Regions from separate parts of the Homo sapiens genome. Here region 2 is linked to region 1. Evidence: promoter capture Hi-C in human tissues and cell types (Jung and others, 2019). All regions are on one chromosome and are shown on one strand. The core of a region is centred on a gene start or on the middle of the fragment in contact, and the rest is flanking DNA. Distances in the headings are between cores, read along the strand shown.

Region 1 (2,511 bases), core at 6-2,505:
CTAGGATGGTGAGGAGGCGGGCCCACAGCCTCCCGCCTCCGTCCGCCGCGCGCCCCGCCCGCCCGGCCGCTTCCGCCCCGTCTGCTCCCCGCCCCCGCCGACCCTCCGGCTCGGCGCTGACCCCGCGCCCTCCGAGCCGCCGCGGGAACTGCAGGGCCGCCCGGCCGCCTCCTCCCTCTCCCGCCCCACAATCCCGCGGATCCGCTCCCCGGGGCGCGGAGGCGGGGAGGGAGGGGCTGCCGGGGAGAGCGTCAAGGACTCGGCTCCGGGCCGTCCGCTTCTTGGGGCTCCGCTCTGGGCGTGGGGCAGTGGAGCTGGACTCCCTTCCCCGCCGCCCCCGGGCCCCGCGGGGGTCTGCAGATCCCGCTTCCTCTGCCCCAGTCCTCCAAGTTTGCGTGCTTTCCCACAGAACTGGCGCAGGCAGGGGCCCCTTCGCTGGGGTGGCGAGGCCAGGCGCGCATCTCCGCCTCGCCCCCATTCATCCCGCCAAGGTGAAGCGCAGGGAAAAGGGGCGCCCCCGCTTCGCCCGCAACGTGCGTCGCTCCGGAACCCAAACAATGACTCCCCTGCCTGCCGCGCCCGGCCCTCCGCCCGCCCCACCGGCGCGCGGGGGGCACCGCCCGCGGGGCTGCCCCTGCCTGACCCCATTGTTGCCCGGCGCGGGCGATGCCCGGCGCCCAGGGGCGGTCCCCGCGAGCTGCCCCACAGTCCCGGCCGGCTCCGCCCACACCTTTCCAAGTTCGCTGGCGGGCGAGCCGCGGGGACGACCCGGGCGACAGCCCCCTCCCTCCACTGCGCGCCCCCACCCGGGCGGGTGCGGCGAGGGGTGGGGGCCCAAGCGGGCTGCACGCTTTTTGGGTCCCCGAATTCTCCTAAGCCTGTCTGGCGCGCTCTGACACAAAAGAGGAGACTTTCTCGCGGCTCGGCGCGAGTCCTTGCCCAGCGAGTTGCTCTCCAGGGGTCCCTCCCGCCGCAAGCCCCCGCGGGCCCCCTCGGCCGACGACTCCCCGAGCTCCCAGGGCCATGTGTGGGTTATTTGGGGTGCCGCAGCAAAGTGGTGCAGGTGAAAGGGAAGCGCTGCCGAGGCCCGGGGCCGGAGGGCGGGGGCAGGGGTGGGGCGGGGTGGGGCGGGGTGGAGGCGCCGCGGACCCAGCCCGGCGGTCCGGGCGGGGAGGCGAGGGCCGGGCAGTGGGTGTTGCCTTCTACCTCTGCGAGCGGGGAGGGGTTAGTTTCCCACAGGGGATTTCAACCATCACACTCAGAGCCCGCCTCCTAATCCTCGGGCGGAGCGGCTCGGGGGCCCCATTTTATGGCAATAAAGCGACTTAGCGCCTGCTGAGCGAGCCCCTCCCCGCCGCCGCCCCCGCCCTCGGCCCCACCCCGGGGCTCGCCGGCAGCGGCGGGGCTTTGTTTCTGGGGAGGAGGACCCGGAGCTCTTTTGTTTGGGGGTTTCTTGTTTTCGGCCCCCCCCCTCACAGCACCCCACCCCACCCCACCCCAAGCGCCTCTCCGGTTTCCTGAGCTGCGGGCTGCGAGGGAGGAGAAGCGGCGTCCTGCAACCCCCTCGGCTGGGCCCCGGGGTAATTCGATGCGGGCCTGGCGAGGCTCCCCACACTAGACCGGGGCTCGCAACTCGGCAGCCTCCACCCACCGGCCCACCCTACATTTAGCGCATCATGTGATCCGGGTAAGTCATTTGCAAGTACAACAGTTCCCCGGGTTGCCCCCCATTCATTTCCTGAGAACTGCAGAGAGCCGCTGAGAGGCTCTGCGTGTGCGTGTGCGCGGGTGACGCCGTGTGTGTGCGAGTGTGTGTGTGTGTGTGCGCGCGCGCGTGTGAGAGAGAGAAAGGGAGAGAGAGAGGGGGACTCTGTGTGAGGGAAAGAAAACAATTTCTCCTGCTCTGCAGCTTCTGTTCAGGTCTGTGCCGATTCCGTTTCTTATCAAAATAAACAACCCCCTCCTCTTTTTTTTTTTTTTTTGCCATCCCAAATCAGACCGTATTCTCTTAACGTGTTTTATTTTCCTTCTGTCATCTGCTCAAGTTAAATCATTTTGGTTGGTCTGTGTTCTTAAAGGGGGAAAGTGCTGGGAAGCGGGAGGGGGCCGGGGAAGGGCGATGCTGTTGCAAAGCAAGTAGCGTCGGTCGGATTCGTGGAGAAGAAAGAAGGAGGTTTCTTCCCCACCTCCCCTAATTTTTTTTTTCCAGAAGAAGTTATCAAGTAACGTGAATTAAGCAAGTGTTTTTCTACCCCTAGTGGAATTGTTGGTTGCAGTGTTTGCCTGACAGTTGCCAAGGATGTGAAATAAAACCCCAGGGCTGAACTTGGGGGGGAGGGGGGGCTCGTGGAAGTAGTTGGCCCCCCGGCCTCGAGCGGGGTGGATGAATAGCTCCGCACCGGGACCGTGTGGGCTGTGTGTGCGCGCTGGAGAGAGTGGAGGGGAAGGGGTTAAGGCGGAGATGACACTGCTGGCATGAATAGTGCTCCTGGTGCTACATTCATTATTGTC
Region 2 (2,511 bases), core at 8-2,507, 430 kb before region 1:
CTTAGGAAAGGAGATTGACTTTTGAAAGTTACTTAACTGGTAGAGCAAAGTAAGTCTTAGAATCCCAATATTCTGGTGCCGATTCCAAGGCTTTTTTTCTGCTGCAGAACCTAAATTATGTATTTATATTCATTAAGTTTTAATTAACTTACTTATTTCATTTTTGTGTGTAAAGGATATTCTTTAAAAGTTCAGTTTGCGATTATCTCTCCTTGAAGGTCAAGGAAATCCGACTCAAGGTGAGCATCAAATGTATGTCTATGTTTTTTAAGAAAGTAAAAGATTTACTTAAAGGAATTTGCTGTAATTCCTAAGTCCTGTTATTTCCATATACTATATTGCTAAGGGAGTAATGAGGAAAACAACAAGGAATAAGATAAAAGCCCCACATATGAAAAGAGGGGACAGGGGTAATGTTATAAGAAAACCCACAGCCAAAGTCTAGGCTACAACAGACATACATCCTGTCCTCAGGAATAGGTTTCAGATCTAACTCCAGTTTCTGGCTTTCCTGTAGATACACACTCAAATACAGGCCCAGGTGGGCTGAAGGCCACAGAGAATGTCTAAGGTCTGTCCACCGCCATGACCTTTCAGTTATGTGTTATATTAATTTAGTAGGGCTGCTCTTATAAAGTTCCACAAACCTGGTGGCTTAAACAACAGAAACTTATTGTCTCACATTTCTGAGGCTAGAAGTCCAAGATCAAGGTGTCAGCAAGGTTGGTTCCTTCTGAGGGCCATGAGCAACCTCTATACTATGCCTGTCTCCTAGCTTTTGGTGGTTTTCTGGCAATCTTTGGCATTTCTTGACTTGTAGACTCATCACCCTTGCATTAATCAGCTCAAGCTGCCAGAACAAAATACTACAGACTGGGTGGCTTAAACCCCAGAAATAAATTTCTCACAGATCTGGAGACTGAAAAGTCTCAAGATCAAGGTACGGGTTGATTCCAGTTCTAGTGTGGGCTGTATTCTTCATTTGTAGATGGCTGCCATCTCATTGTGTCTTCACATGGTAGTGAAATGGTTGTGGGGCAGGGAATGAGAGAGAGAGAGGGAGAAAGAGAGAGAGCCCTTTTTATAGTGTCTCTTCTTTTCAGGACACAGATCCTTAAAAGAACTAAGGAGGCATGAATACTGAGACATCACCTAAACTGTCAGATGTCCTGGTCCCAGGAGAGGGTCCCAGGAGAAATTCAATTGGGTCAAAATTCAAATGTTAAAATTCTACCTTGCGGTAGAATTGCAGATGTAATTAATTGGGGATTAGAAATGCAGTTGTTTACAGATGTAATTAGTTAAGGATTAGGGCCCCACCCTTATGAACTCTTATAATCTTCATTACTTCCATGTAGGACCTATCTCCAAATACAGTCACCTCAAAGGTTAGGGCTTCAGCGTAAAAATTGTAGGGGTATACAATGCAACACATAGCAACTCTGATCTCTGCCTTTGCGTTCACATGGCATTCTTCCAGTGTGCATGTCTATCTCTGTGTCTAAATCGCCTCCTTTTTGTAAGGACTCCAGTCCTATTGAATTATTGGCCCACTTTAATCTTAACTAATTACATCTGCAAACAACCCCATTTCCAAATAAGGTCACATTCTGAAGTACTGCAAGGTAGAGTTTTAACATTTGAATTTTGACCCATAGCATGTATATACCCTCTCCTGGTACCAGGACATTCATCAGTTTAGGTGGGGTCTCAGTATTCACTCCTCCATAACAGACCCTGAAACAAAACTTTGCGTGCATGAAGTTATTTGGGAAACACAGGAACTTGAGCAGGGAGTGGGGAAGAGGGCATGATTAAGTCTGCCTCCACAATGGTCACATGGAGAATCCCATTAGTCCCATGGGGAAAATACAGGGAACATTATCCCTCCAGGGAGGAAAAGGAGCAGGGATATTTAAACACCAATTTATTTGTCTGTTGGTGGCCAGTGCCTGTTGTGTCCTCTCTCCCCCTCTTTTTCTTTCTTCATTGTTTGCTTTAGCCTTCTCCAACTCTCTCTGGGGAGAATCCATATTCATGAGCAAAGACACAAATCACCTTCATGCAGCTCTACTCCTGCTCCCTCTGAGTACTAATCTGGATTCCTACCAGTCTTCAGTTGTCATATTCAGGATAATACTTAGAAACATTCATGTTAAACCAGATTCTCTTCTAAGTCTCACATCTGGCATCATAAAATCACCTGTAGGAGAGCCCTACTCTGGATACTAAGCTATGTGTTCCCAACTTAGAATCTTACTCTGGGAACTTGCATGGAATCTGTCTACATTCTTTATCTGCCACTAAAACAGAAAAACAAGCATAACAGATATGAAAAGTATAGATAATTTCCTTATTTACAGTATTTAGCAATCTTAATTTATGTTTATGTCTCATCAGTGAACCCCTGCTAATAAAGATTCAATTTTTGCTTAAATTATTTTGGTCCTAGACTGTGGCTTTCCAGGCCATGTCTAATATCCTTTTGTTCCTAGAACATTTGGTCCATGA

What was found. Contacts are between HindIII fragments. The study calls those that stand out against the background at their distance.
Region 2: a contact is called between a fragment that was not itself captured here and the fragment with the promoter of KLF12 in region 1, in 1 of the 25 tissues and cell types used here (dorsolateral prefrontal cortex).

Annotation. Positions count from the first base shown.
Region 1 is chr13:74,133,148-74,135,658 of GRCh38, reverse strand. It overlaps KLF12 (KLF transcription factor 12), which reads left to right and starts at 1,255. Exons shown (of 8, transcript NM_001400136.1): 1 at 1,255-1,687. RefSeq lists a silencer at 1-1,508. The HindIII fragment of the contact is 8,641 bases long and covers 1-2,511 here.
Region 2 is chr13:74,560,863-74,563,373 of GRCh38, reverse strand. No RefSeq gene overlaps it. Among named protein-coding and RNA genes, the nearest start is that of LINC00347, 9.3 kb to the right of the region's middle. The HindIII fragment of the contact is 5,000 bases long and covers 1-2,511 here.